Regions from separate parts of the Homo sapiens genome. Here region 1 is linked to region 2. Evidence: promoter capture Hi-C in human tissues and cell types (Jung and others, 2019). All regions are on one chromosome and are shown on one strand. The core of a region is centred on a gene start or on the middle of the fragment in contact, and the rest is flanking DNA. Distances in the headings are between cores, read along the strand shown. Region 1 overlaps WDR45B (WD repeat domain 45B). Region 2 holds the start of UTS2R (urotensin 2 receptor).

Region 1 (6,792 bases), core at 3,962-6,461, 270 kb before region 2:
TCTAGTGAATTATCGATCAGCATGAACTTCTTGTGCCTTTTCCTGTCACATCAGGGATTTTTGGCAGCAGAAACCTCTTTTCAAGTAAAGTCTTACCTGTAACCCTGGGATGTAGAACAGTAAGTGGTGCTTTATGTCTGGGAGTTTATTTTGTAAGTCAGGGTGCATTTCCTCAGCCTGCATCCATGCTGTGTACGTTTGAGTCCTGGTTCTGCCCTTTACCAGGTTGCTGTGCGACCTTGGGCAAATTTCTCAGCCTCTTTGGGCCTCTATTTTTTTTTTTTCCTTCTTCCGAGACGGGATCTTGCTCTGTCGCCCAGGCTGGAGTGCAATGGCATGACCTCGGCTCATTGCAACCTCCGCCTCCCGGGTTCAAGCGGTTCTCCTGCCTCGGCCTCCCGAGTAGCTGGGATTACAGGCACCCACCACCACAACCGGCTAATTTTTGTATTTTTAGTAGAGACGGGGTTTCACCATTTTGGCCAGGCTGGTCTCTAACTCCTGACCTCATGATCCATGCACCTCGGCCTCTCAAAGTGCTGGGATTACAGACGTGAGCCACCGTCCCCGGCCACCTCACTTTCTTTGTACGTGAAATAAGGTTGATAACAATGCCTGCCTCAGAGTTATTGTAAAAATGAGTCAGGGTGCGTAAGACACGCAGATTAATGCCTGCGCGCACATTAGGTGCTGTGGAGTGTATGATGCCACATACACTGTATGATGGGATTTATGCAGATAAATGTATGATGGGATAATGATGGGATTTATGCAGATAAGTAGTTGCAAAACATTTTAAAACAGCTTGACTTGCAAATCTCAGGATACTTTTTACTGAATTGACCCAGAAGCTTACAGGAGAGTTGTAGACGTTGGTGTCCAAGTTGAATCATTAGCAGCTGTGTGGGAAAAACCCCCCAGCCATGTTTTCTCTCCACTCTTAACAGCACGACAGTTGTCAGCACAGAAGACTTCTGTGACTGAATGTGGGGAATTTCTCCCCACACACCAAGCAGTGGACACCAGCTGGGTGTCCTTTCAGTTCTGACGCCATCTACCTAGAGATAGAGTCAGATCCCACAGGTTGAGGGCTCAGTCCCCAAGACTGCCCCAGTCCCCACCATGCATGAGTCTGGGCCTCCTAAACTTCAGACTGACTGGCTTCAAGTTGGGGTTCCCACAGCCCCCTCCTTGGATTCAATTAATGTGCTGGAGCGGCTCCCAGAACTTGGGGAAGCACATTTACCAGTTTATTATAAAGCAGCGGTCTGCAGCCTTTTCGGCACCGGGGACTGGTTTCATGGAAGACAGTTTTTTTCATAGGGGGATGGTTTCGGGATGAAACTGTTCCCACTCAGATCATCAGGCATTAGAGTCTCAGGAGGAGCGTGCAGCCTCCATCCCTCGCGTGTGCCGTTCACAGTGGGGTTCATGCTTCTGTGAGAATCGTATGCTGCCGCTGATCTGTCGGGGCAGAGCTTGGTGGGGATGCTTGTTCGCCTGCTGCTTGCGTCCTGCTGTGCAGCCTGGTTCCTAACAGGCCACGGACCAGTACTGCCCCGGGGTTGCAGACCCATTGTAAAGGATAATTGCCAAGAATACAGATGAGGGCAAGCACGGAACAAGGTGTGGGGGGACAGGCTATGGAGTTTCCAAGCCCTCCCTCGGCTGCCACCCTCCAGAACCTTCCATGTGTTCAGCTGACCTCTTGGATTTTTATGTTTTTTATTTTTTTACTTCAAAATTCATTTTTCTTTGATTTTTTTTTTCTCTTTTTTCCCACATGTGTTACAGAAAATACCTCTTGGAGATATATACATATCTATCTCTGACGTTGTCTCGCTCTGTTGCCCAGGCTGGAGTGCAGTGGTGTGATCTCGGCTCACTGCAAGCTCCGCCTCCCGGGTTCAGGCCTTTCTCCTGCCTCAGCCTCCCGAGTAGCTGGGATTGCAGGCACCTGCCACCACGCCTGGCTAATTTTTTTTGTATGTTTGGTAGAGACGGTGTTTCACTGTGTTAGCCAGGATGGTCTTGATCTCCTGACCTCGTGATCCGCCCACCTTGTCCTCCCAAAGTGCTGGGATTACAGGCATGAGCCACCGCACCCCGGCCACCTCTTGGATTTTTAAGGAAGCTTCATAGTATCTGCATTGCTTCTCCTAGTGTGCAGGGTGGGAGCTTCTCTATGGAGGTTCTTCAGACCCACAATCAGGTGGAGAAGATTTGAGTTCTGCCTTAGCAGGTGAAAGGGCAGGAGAGAGATTCTGGTTCCTGAGGGCCTAACACACCCAATATTATAACAAAAGATTGTAACAAGGTCTGGGAGTTATGAGCCAGGAACCGTGGGTGAAAACCTGTATGTGTCTCTCTCATAACACCACAACAGCATATTAACAACTGCTTCCTAATTAATGAAGTGTTTACAGTAAATTCAACATTTCTTATAAAAATGAGTTTGACGGCCCGCACGGTGGCTCACGCCTGTAATCCCAGCACTTTGGGAGGCTGAGGCGAGCAGATTGCCTGAGCTCAGGAGTTCGAGACCAGCCTGGGCAACACGGTGAAACCCCATCTCTACTACAAATACAAAAAGTTAGCCAGGCGTGGTGGCGCATACCTGTAATTCAAATTACTGGGGAGGTTGAGGCACGAGAATCACTTAAACCCGGGAGGCCGAGGTTGCAGTGAGCCGAGATTGCGCCACTGCACTCCATCCTGGGCGACAGAGCAAGACTCCGTCTCAAAAAAAAAAAAAACCCAGACAAGAAACATCTAAAACTTCTAAATTCCAGAAAAGTATACCATTGTCATGGTTTAGCTCATCACACACATATACCCGGTCTTGTGCGTCTGCCAGCTCGGCTGTGTCTGGGGCAGGCTGTCCCTGAGCTTAGCATGCAGTGAGTTCTCACATGTGCATGTGTGGTGTGCTCCCGTTTCCAGCTTATGTGAGTAGATAGGCCCTAATGTGAAATGGATACAGTAGGGCCACACTGTCTTTTTGATGGCACATTTAAACAGTTTGGCTCTGCACTTACAGACTCATCTGCTGCTCTGCGTCTGGCAGCTTACAGTTTAACAATGAAGAGCAGGCCAGGCCTCTAATCCCAGCACTTTGGGAGGCCAAGGTGGGCAGATCACGAGGTCAGGAGATCGAAACCATCCTGGCCGGCACAGTGAAACCCCATCTCTACTAAAAATACAAAAATTAGCTGGACCTGGTGGTGCGTGCCTTTAATCCCAGCTACTCGGGAGGCTGAGGCAGGAGAATTGCTTGAACCAGGGAGTCGGAGGTTGCAGTGAGCCGAGATCTCGCCACTGCACTGCAGCCTGATGGCAGAGTGAGACTCTGTCTTAAAAAAAAAAAAAAAAGAAAAAAATCCCAGTGAAGAGCAGCACCAGACTTGCCCTTGTTCCTTTTTAATTGTAGCAGTTTGCTTTCCTGAGTGGTGGGGAAGGAAGCCTGCATGACAGTGTGTCCTGGATCTGGGCTTGTGGCATGGTTCTCTCCAGGGTGACTGTGCATTGAGTAAGGAGACTGTGGGCTCTGAGCAGGCTGCTGTTTCCAGATACGCCTTCTGCCACTTGGCAGGAACGGGAAGCTGGTAGTTCAGGGAAGCCTTCTTGGGGATCCCTGCTCCTTCAGTCTTGGGGGGCAGTGTTGTCCAACCCTGCTCCCCGACATAGGTCCTGCATCCATTGTACACCCAGGTTTGTTCTTTCCACACACACAGCCCAGCCACCCTCCCGACCCACACACAGCCCAGCAGCCCACCTGACCCGACACACACACAGCCCAGCAGCCCACCTGACCCGACACACACACAACCCAGCAGCCCTCCCGACCCACACACAGCTCGGCAGCCCACCTGACCCGACACACAGCCCGGCAGCCCTCCCGACCTGACACACACACAGCCCAGCAGCCCTCCCGACCCCACACACACACAGCCCAGCAGCCCGCCCCACCTACACACAGCCCAGCAGCCTACCTGACCTGACACACAGCCTGGCAGCCCTCTCGACCTGACACAGCCCAGCAGCCCGCCAGACCCGACACACACACAGCCCGGCAGCCTCAGCACATCTAGCTTCACAACAGGTCCTGCAGGCTTCGTGCTGTGTGCTCACCCAGCGTGCCAGGTGAAGGTGCTAGAGAAATGGGAGGCCTGCAATGTGTAGGTAGCAGGTGGTTCCTGCGGGTGGGGAGGACACAGAGGTGGTGGGTAGCTTTGGGAAGGAGGTGGAAAGGGGAAGTTTGGTAACCTGGTGGTAGAAGGTTAAATTGGTAGAGCCTTGTGGAGTAATTTGGCAAGCTGTGTTCATTATAGATGTACTGTTTGGTGCCTGTATACCAATATTACTTGCAACGCTGTTTCCAAGAGTGGAAAATTGGAGAACCCGAATGACTTTCATGAAAGGGGTGATTACTGTGGTTGTGGCACATCCTCAAAATGGTGCTTCATGCGGTAAGAATGCCGAGACCAATCTGAATCCTCATTTGGAGAGATGGCCATGGCATTGTTAAAGGAAAAAGAAAGTAGAGAATAGCATAGATGGTGTTATAGGAACAAAATATCTATGCACAAAGTTTAGAACATACGTGGCCAGGCAGAGTGGCTCATGCCTGTAATCCCAGCACTTTAGGAGGCCGAGGCAGGTGGATCACGAGGTCAGGAGATCGAGACCATCCTGGCCAACATGGTGAAACCCCATCTCTACTAAAAATAAAAAAATTAGCCGGGCATGGTGGTGGGTGCCTGTAGTCCCAGCTACTTGGAAGGCTGAGGCAGGAGAATCACTTGAACCCAGGAGGCGGAGGTTACAGTGAGCCGAGATCGTGCCACTGCACTCCAGCCTGGTGACAGAGCGAGACTCTGTCTCAAAAAAAGTACATAAATGATGTTGTTTCACAGTGTTTTCTACTTTATGCTTTTCTGTGTTGTTTTATAGAAATGATGCATAATTTTTATAATGGGAAATAAGGTTTTCTTTAAAAATAAAACTCCACAGAAATAGGAACGAGAAACAGGGACTGCACGACATGACAGAGGCAAAAATAAAAAGGTTATTAGCCTCAAGTGCTAGAATGGTTGATTTTCACTCATTTGTATAAAGTGATTCATTTTTCAAGCATCTCTTAGTGGAATAGAAGTTATGCCAGTATTCAGACATCCCCTTTCCCCATTTTCTTTTATTAGTTTCTTGTGTTTTGCAGCAGGCTCTGTTGGGAGAGTCTGGGCCTGTCAAGATGTGGTGTAATTATATATTTTGGTTTTCACCCTGGCCGGTAACTCCCACAGACCTGGTTAGTCTTTTTGTTACAATATTGGCCCTCAGGGGAGGCCTCTGACCTTCTCCTACCCCCCTTTCACCCTAACGTGTCCTGTCTCCCCACCACCACCCCACCTTCCTTCCTTTCTTTTCTTTTTTCTTTCTTTCTTTCCTCCTCCCCCCTCCCCTCCCCTCCCCTCCCCTCCCCTCCCCTCCCCTCCTCTCCCCTCCCCTCCCTTTCCCTCCCCTCCCTTTCCCTCGCCTCCCCTCTTCTTTGACAGAATCTCTCCCAGGCTGGAGTGCAGTGGCTCCATCTTGGCTCACTGCAACCTCCACCTCATGGGTTCAAGCGATTCTCGTGCCTCAGCCTTCCAAGTAGCTGGGATTACAGGCACATGCCACCACACCTGGCTACGTTTTTTTGTTTGTTTTGTATTTTTAGTAGAGATGGGGTTTCACCACGTTGACCAGGCTGGTCTCGAACTCTTGACTTCAAGTTATTTGTCTGCCTCGGCCTCCCAGAGTGCTGGGATTACAGGCATTAACCACCACACCCCCACCCTTTCTAATTGTGGGTCTCAGGACCCTCCCCAGAGAAGGCCGTACCCTCTGCCCCTGGGAAAGGAATGCTGATATCATGAAGCTTCCATAAAATCCCAAGGAGACGGGGTTCAGAGAGCTTCACGGAAGCTTTGTGTCCTTCCCCTAATACCTTGCCCTATGCATCTCTTCATCTGTATCCTTTGTAATATTCTTTGTTATAAACTGGTAAACATAAGGAAGTGTTTCCCTGAGTTCGGTGAGCCGTGCCAGCAAATTGAACCCAAAGAAGGGGTCACGGGAACCCCAACTTGAAGCTGGTCAGTCAGAAGTTTTGAAGGTTCTAACTTGTGACTGGTGTGTGGTGCAGTCGGTCTTGGGGACTGAGCCTTCAACCTGTGGGATCTAATACTCTCTCCAGGTAGATGGTGTCAGAACTGAGTTAGAGGAAGACCAGCTGGGGTTTGCTGTGCGGTTTCTGCTTTAGTCACAGAAGTCTTCTGTGTTGGTGATTGTGTGAGAATAGAGACCATGATTAGAGGAGAGGGTTTTTCTCTGTACCACAAGGACTGGGGTGTACCTCAAGTTTTCCTCAGCTGATGTTTAGTAGGAGCCTGTTTTGTGTCCTACGCAACCTATTGCTGCAATTTTAGTTGCTGTTACAGACAAGTCCGACCGCCAGGGACCCTTAGAGATGTAGACGCTGACATCCTGGGCAGGCTTGGGCATTTCTTCTTTTTGTGGGTATAAAATGTTCCAGGAATAAATAAATGCTCAGTGCTGTGAAGTAAAACCAGCACTCAGGCAAAAGTTTAATTCTCTCAGTAAGGCAATTTACTTCTGCAGAAGGGTGCCCCTTGCATCAGTCAAGATGGCAAGAGCACAGAGAACAAAGGAGACCGGGGGTTTTTATCCTGAACGCAGTCCCTATCTCTGTGTCACTCCCCTATGGGCTGGGGTCGGACTGCACAATCTGAG
Region 2 (7,558 bases), core at 728-3,227:
GTAAGGAGAGGAAGGCCTCTGCAATCTCCATTTCTCATACAGGGAAACGAATTCAAGATGGATTGCAGGCCTAAGTGTGAAAGGTTAAATCAGTCAGTCGAGGTTCTGGAAGAAAACGGGAATACTGGCATAACCTTGGATGGGAAAATATTTCTTAAAAATGAACAAAAAATACTTTCAATAAAAGACTAAGCAAATGGGTTTCATTAAAATTAAGAACTTTACCAAGAGAGCGAAATCATAAGCCACAGGCTAGGAGATCATCAGAAAACATATATCAGGCCAGTTGCAGTGGCTCACGCCTGTAATCCCAGCACTTTAGGAGGCCTAGGCAAGTGGATCACCTGAGGTCAGGAGTTCGAAACCGGCCTGGCCAACATCTCGAAACCCCGTCTCTACTAAAAATACAAAAATTAGTCGGGCATGGTGGCACACGCCTGTAATCCCAGCTGCTCGGGAGGCTGAGGCAGGAGAATTGTTTGAACTCGGGAGGTGGAAGTTGCAGTGAGCCAAGATTGAGATTGTGCCACCGCACTCCAGCCTGGGCAACAAAGTGAGACTTTGTCTCAGAGAAAAAAAAAAAGAAGAAACATAGACAAAAAGCTGGTAAGAAAAATATAGGGAAGAACTGCAAATTAGTAAGGAAAAGACAAACAACCCATTTGAAAAAAAGAGACCAAAACCGTGACCGGGGACTTCCTGAAAAGGACACCCACGCAGCCAACAAGCAGGGAAATGCCAGTCAGGGCCACAGGAGCCCCTGCGTGCTGACAAGGATGAACGCGTGAAAAGGCAGATATCCTTGTCAACAGGCGTGGGGGCTGTGGAGGAGCTGGCCCTGCCGTTTCCTGTTGCTGGGAACCTGGACTGTGCCGCCGCTTTGGAAAGCCATTGGCACGATTTGCAGAGTTGACCGCCTATACCTTCTCACCCGGCAATTCTACTCTCAGGTTAGTACCTTAGATAAAGGGCTGCCAACGTTCAGAAAATGACAAGCGTGCGAAAGTTCACGGCAGCTTGACTCCTAAGAAGCTGGAAACAGCTCAAATGTCCCCAGTGGACGGGGCAGGCAAACTGTGACATGAAGCCAGTGAAGGAGTCGCCGCTGGGGTCAGCAGCCTGGATGAAACAGCGCGGTGGTGGGCTGAAGAAACAAGACACAGGAGGCTGCCTGATTCCACGAGCCACGCTGAATTTAGGCCGAACACTCATGGCTGCGCAGGGAGCAGTCTTGGCTGGGGTGGGGAGTTGTCAACAGGTGGGGGCGCTGGGGGCCTTCCAGGGCCTGGAAATGTGCCCTGTCCGCCCTTTCCCACCAGGCCGAGCAGCTCCCAGCTCCATCTGTCCAGGGGACCCTCACCCCCTTGCTGCCCCCACCCAGGGCATTTCCAGAGCCCTCACCCAGGGGACGGCGCAGAAGCCGAGGGTGCACCGGGCTCCCCAGTTGTGCGCGAGCCCGAGTCACGGGCAGGGGGACAGCGGCCGCCGGGCCGCTAGGATTGCTCCAGGGTCGCTAGGGGGGAAGGGGAGGGGCCGAAAGTTCCACGGCACGGGAGAAGCCGCCTCGCTGGACCCCGCTCCCCTCGCCCAGGGTGGGTTCCCACCGCGAAACCCCGGCCCAGCCCTGCGGAGGGCCCCGAAGGGCACAGACCCGGCAGTCCCCGCGCGCTCCCGGTCACCCACCGAGGACCCACCTGCCTCCGGTCACTGAGCGGCCAGACCTGCCCGCCGAGCCTGGGGTCGCGCGTGGGGGCAGCCGCTCGCGGCTCCAAACTCCTCGCGCAGCGGGGCCGCGGGGAACTTTCCGAGGCGCGCTCCCCTGTCCCAGCGCAGAGGGGGCGCGAGGGGCTCCGCGGTGGCCTCGGCTTCCAGAGCACACGGCAGGGGCGCCCGCCAGTCCCGCCACCAAAGCCGCGCCCCCCGCCCCGCGCCGGGTCTCTGCGCCGCCGCCACCTGCCCGCCGCCAGCTGGGAATGCGCCGCGCCCCGCGCCAGGGCCCGGTATTAAAATAACCCCAGCGGGCAGCAGGCGCGCGGAGGGGACGGCGCCGGGTGTCTAGGGGGCGGCGCTGACCGCGCGGCGCCGGGAAGACGCGGGGGTCGCGGGGCCGCAGCGGGGTCGGCGGAGGGTCCCAGGCGGGTCTCGCGTCTGCGTCTGCGGAGCGAAGCTGCCTCCAGCCCGGCTGCCCCAAGGCTGACCCCGCAGCCCCTCTTGGGTTCTCCGCCTCCAGCGTTCACCCCTGCGCCCCTCACGCCCGTGTTTGCAGGGCACGGAGCCTGGGATTCTCCGTGTCCACCAAGCCCTGGACCCGCCCGCGCGCAGGTGGGGGGCAGGAACACCCCTAAACCCCGAGAGGGTCATAGAAAGGAGGTAAGGGAGGGAGGGAGTCACCCGCCCAGGCGGGGACGGGCTCTTTGGGGGCCTTGACCCCGCCCCTGTTGCGGGTCTCCCACAGATGCTCTTAGAAGCCCACGCAGCCTCTCCAGGCCTCGGCAGGGACTCGTGGTGGCCACATCCACGGAAGTGACGCTGGGAGCTGCAGGGCCCCGCGGGGTAGGAGGAAGGACCCCACAGCCTCACCCTCGAGCCCCTGAGCTGGGTGCTGGCCCCCACTCGGTTTCACTTGCTGCTCGGAGGTAGGATGTGGGCCTTCACTCATGCTGAACCCCTGAAAGAAAAAGACACAGAACATTAATAAATTAGACTAGAGGAGAGCTGGAGAGCTGTGAACACGGGGTCTAAAGGGCCCCCAGCGAGGAGCTGGCCTCGCCCACTCCACTCCGCCCGGGGCTCATCTGCTGCCTGAGGCCGCGGACCGGCCCCTAAAGCTGAAGGGGTTCTGCTGGGGGAGAGGAGGTGGCCAAGTGTGAATGGCCGAGAGGCTCCTGCAATCAGCTGGATCCGGGGGAGCCCCAGATGCCCACCAGTCCCCTCCGTGGGACGTTTGCCACGTGCTGGGGAGGCGAGGCTGGGCTGGAGAGGGCGGGAAAAGTCCCTCTGGTCTCCGAGCGTCCGCTGGACGGAGCAAGGGTCACACAATAAGACAGTTCATTCTCTGTGAGCTGAAAACAGCCGAACTGAAACCAAATACAGCTGCAGCTTCCGACCCGAAAGGGGAGCAGCTCATCCTGCCTGTGCGCGGGAGGAAAGGGGGTGGAAGGCTGCCTCCGACGTGATGGTTCTGTGAGAGCTGATTACTAAGCTGGAGTCTAGGGGCTAGGGCTGGGGAAAAGCACTCAGGACCCAGAATGCCTGCTCCAAGAATTAAATTTCCCGCAAGCCAGCTGCCGAAACGATCTGCTGTCACCTCAGCCAGTTCACCGAGTAGCTGCTGAAACGACCTGCCCTGACACGAACACCGGGTTTTTTATTTTTTATTTTATTTTTTTATTATTTATTTATTTATTTTTTTGAGATGGGGTCTCACTCTTTCACCCGGGCTGGAGTGCAGTGGTGCGATCTCGGCTCACTGCAACCTCGGCTCACTGCAACCTCCACCTCCCAGGCTCAAGCAATTCTCCTGCCTCAGCCTCCCAAGTAGCTGGGATTACAGGCACCCGCCACCACACCCAGCTAATTTTTGTGTTTGTAGTAGACGGGGTTTCATCATGTTGGCCGGGTAGGTCTCGAACTCCTGAGCTCAGGTGATCTGCCCACCTCAGCCTCCCAAAGTGCTAGGATTACAGGCGTGAGCCACCGTGCCTGGCCTCCAGTGCTGGTTTTACCACTGAGGCCACTCGCCTGAGCTTGCCAGCTCCCCCGAACTACCAGTGCCAACGGGCTTTCTTTCAAAGCAATAGATAACGTTTCTCTTTCCAAAAGAATCCCGATTTTCTTTTGTTCTTGAACATACCGAATTGAAATTCTTCCTAAAATTAAACATTAAACTTAAAGATTTGTCTGTATATTTGGACTTTGACAGTTGCTATGTATAAAATGCTTCAGCAAGGAAATAATAATCTGATTATTGTTTCCTTGCTGCTTCATATCTTATGTGATCCATAATTGATGGGGGAAAAATAGCCGATAGAAGCAGGTCCATATGTGACACAAGTATTGGAATTAGCAGACCAGGAGTTTCTGTTTTACAAAAACTGTTACAAATATAGTAAAGCAAGCAGAAGAACCTGGGCAACATGCATGAAAAGATGGAAATTTTCACCAGAAAATGGGAATGTATTTCTTTCTTTATTTGAGACAGGGTCTCGCTCTAAGGTCTAGCCTAGGCTCGCCCAGGCTGGAGTGCAGGGGTGTGATCATGGCTCACCGCAGCTTTCTTTGACTTCCTACACTCAAGCAATTCTCCTACCTCCCGAGTAGCTGGGACTACAGACATGCACCGCTACACTACACTTGGCTAATTTTTGTATTTTTTGTAGAGACAAGTTTCACCATGTTGCCCAGCCACTACGCCCAACCCCATTTGACTCTTTTATTAGAAATTCCCAGGCTGGGCACTGTGGCTAACACCTGTAATCCCAGCACTTTTTTTTTTTTTTTTTTTTTTGAGATGGAGTCTCACTCTGTCGCCCAGGCTGGAGTGCAGTGGCGTGATCTTGACTCACTGCAACCTCCGCCTCCCAGGTTCAAGCAATTCTCTGCCTCAGCCTCCCGAGTGACTGGGATTACAGGTGCCCACCACCACACCCAACTAATTTTTGTATTTTTTTTTTTTTTTTTGAGACAGAGTCTCGCTGGTCGCCCAGGCTGGAGTGCAGTGGCGCAATCTCGGCTCACTGCAAGCTCTGCCTCCCGGGTTCATGCCATTCTCCTGCCTCAGCCTCCCGAGTAGCTGGGACTACAGGTGCCCACCACCGTGCCTGGCTAATTTTTTGTATTTTTAGTAGAGACGGGGTTTCACTGTGTTAGCCAGGATGGTCTCGATCTCCTGACCTCGTGATCCGCCCGCCTCGGCCTCCCAAAGTGCTGGGATTACAGGTGCCCACCACCGCTCTCAGCCTAATTTTTGTATTTTTAGTAGAGATGGGCTTTCACTATCTTGGCCAGGCTGGTCTTGAACTCCTGACCTCGTGATCTGCCCACCTCGGCCTCCCAAAGTGCTAGGATTACAGGCATGAGCCACCGCACCCGGCCAATCCCAGTACTTTTGAAAACTGAGGCAGGATGATCACTCGAGTCTAGAAGTTTGAGACCAGCCTGGGCACATAATGAGACCCTCCATTTCTATTTCTAAAAAAATTTTTTAAAGGGTGAAGGAAATAATGTATACAGTGGTCCATTTCCAAGACAGTGTGCCTTGAATCGGCTTAGGTCAGCAAACTACAGAAGAACAGGATATACTAGGCCCCAGCTTGGATAGTGGATGCCTGCTTGTCGGCCTCATCCACTCCCTTTTAACCCCCTCTTAGTTGCCCTCACCCAAATCAAAGAAGTTTAAGATGAAATTTTACTAGCCTGCAAAATAGCTGGTTTGATCTATTCTTATCAGCCTGCCCAGCTACTTAGGTCATAAGTCAAATACTTAAAGAGCCCCTGAGCTAACTAGGATTGCAATGCATTGTGGGCTGCAACAAAATGCAGCAGGACAACCCTGAAGAAAACACCTACAGCACCTGCCCAACAACCAATAGGCGACATCCGGGAAGATTGTGACCCGAGAGTACTCAGCCTATGAGGAACCTGGGGAGGGACCTGCACCCTGCAGCCCCTGCCCAACAACCAATAGGCGACATGCAGGAAGACTGTGATCCCCTAGTACTCAGCCTATGAGGAAGCTGGGGAGGGACCTGTGCCCTACAGCCCCTGCCCAACAACCAATAGGCGACATGCGGGAAGACTGTGACCCCAGAGTACTCAGCCTATGAGGAACCGGGGGAGGGATCTGTGCACTAGGGGATAAATTGCTTGTTGAAACTGCTGGGTGTGCCTGCCCACCAGACACCCGATCTTGCCGTCATTAAAAGCCTCGCTTTCGCTGTTCTCCAGGTCCCTGAGTCAGTTCTTTGGATTTGGACGGATGAGTTTCTTTCTCACAAGGGTCAAATGGACATTTTATAACTTTTAAAAGTACAGTATCTAAAATTCAGAAATCACAGCAGAAGAAAGAATCAGTTAACTTAAAGGTAGGTCAATAGAAATTATCCAGACACAGAAAGAGAAAAGAATGAAAAACAGAAAAGCCTGTGGAACCACACCATCAAATGATCTGACGTACATGTCACTGGAGTCCCCAGATCAACAACAGAGGAAAATGGGGCAGGAGCAATATCTGAAAAGGCAGTGGCTGAAATTTTCAAAATTGATAAGCAATGTCAACTTACAGACATTAGAATCTTAGTAAATCACAAGCAGGAAAAAACTAAAAGCAAACAACTCCAGCGCATTGTAGTAAAAAATTCCAAAAACCAAAGGTAAACAGAAACTGTAAAAATTATTGAGATTAAAAAAAAAAAAAAGACAATGCATTCAGGGAATAACAATAGGAAAGATGACTAGATCTCCTCAGAAAACCATGGAAACCGAAAGAGAATGACCTCTTTAAAGTACCAAAATAAAGAATTTTAACCAACAATTTATGTACAATAAAATATAGATACTTTCAGACAAAGCTAAGAACATTTGTCACAGCACAAAAAAATACTAAAGGAGCTCCTCAGGCTTTCCTTCTGCTGACAGAAAATGACCCCAGATAGAAACTCGGAAGTGCATGGAAAAATGAAGTGCACCAGGAAGGTAAATATGTTTGTAAATTAAAAAGATGAGGACTATGCAGCAATAGCTCTGGTGGCGCATGATGATGATAACACGTGTCAACTAATATCCAAGACAACAATAGCACCAGGTCTCTGGAGAAGGGTGAGTGAAATTACACAGTTGGAAAGCTCTTTGTTGTTGTGTAAGAATTCACATTTCAGGCCGGGCGCGGTGGCTCACACCTGTAATCCCAGCGCTTTAGTGCAAAGTGGCTCTGCCTGCCTATGATTCACTTTATGGACCATTAAATCATAAATCATAATCATAAAGCTCCCATTTTCCACAAATGTGACTTTTGAAGCTTTGCTCTGCACTTAATGGGTTCATTATGTTTTGCAATGATAATTTTTGTGAAAGAAGTACTTTCCAATTGGATTACTAAATTCTGTAGAAAATGAGGTTCCACAGACAGAGCTGGTTTCATGGGGCTCTTTTCAGGTGCCCATCCAGCCTGATGTTTGTGTTTTTCAGACTTGAAGAGGATGCTTTGTTCAGAACCCACTCCACCTCTCAGGTGCTTAGAGACCAGAGGCCCATCCTGCCGCAGACACTGGGGCAGAGATGCTTGATGAAAATAAGGGAACGTGGCCGAGCGCAGTGGCTCATATCTGTAATCCTAACACTTTGGGAGGCTGAGGTGGGAGGATCGCTTGAGCCCAGGAGTTCAAGGCCAGCCCGAGCAACATAGTGAGACCCTGTCTCTATAAAAAGAAAATAAAAATAAAAATAAATAAGGGAATAAAAGTGAGGGGTGGAGGCAGCTCAGGCTGAGTGCACCCCAGATGGAGTTAGGGAACCTCATGAGGAGCAAAGACTGGGCCGTGCAGAAACGGCCAGGCCCTCA

The links. The method cuts DNA at HindIII sites, captures the fragments that hold promoters and counts their contacts. A contact is called where the count stands out against the background at its distance.
Region 1: a contact is called between a fragment that was not itself captured here and the fragment with the promoter of UTS2R in region 2, in 5 of the 25 tissues and cell types used here (IMR-90 fibroblasts, dorsolateral prefrontal cortex, liver and 2 more).

The regions. Positions count from the first base shown.
Region 1 is chr17:82,636,934-82,643,725 of GRCh38, reverse strand. All of the region lies in intron 2 of WDR45B (WD repeat domain 45B), which reads left to right. Among named protein-coding and RNA genes, the nearest start is that of WDR45B, 8.1 kb to the left of the region's middle. The HindIII fragment of the contact is 7,436 bases long and covers 1,494-6,792 here.
Region 2 is chr17:82,366,184-82,373,741 of GRCh38, reverse strand. It overlaps UTS2R (urotensin 2 receptor), which reads right to left and starts at 1,977. Exons shown (of 3, transcript NM_018949.3): 1 at 1,695-1,977; 2 at 959-1,144. The HindIII fragment of the contact is 34,629 bases long and covers 1-7,558 here.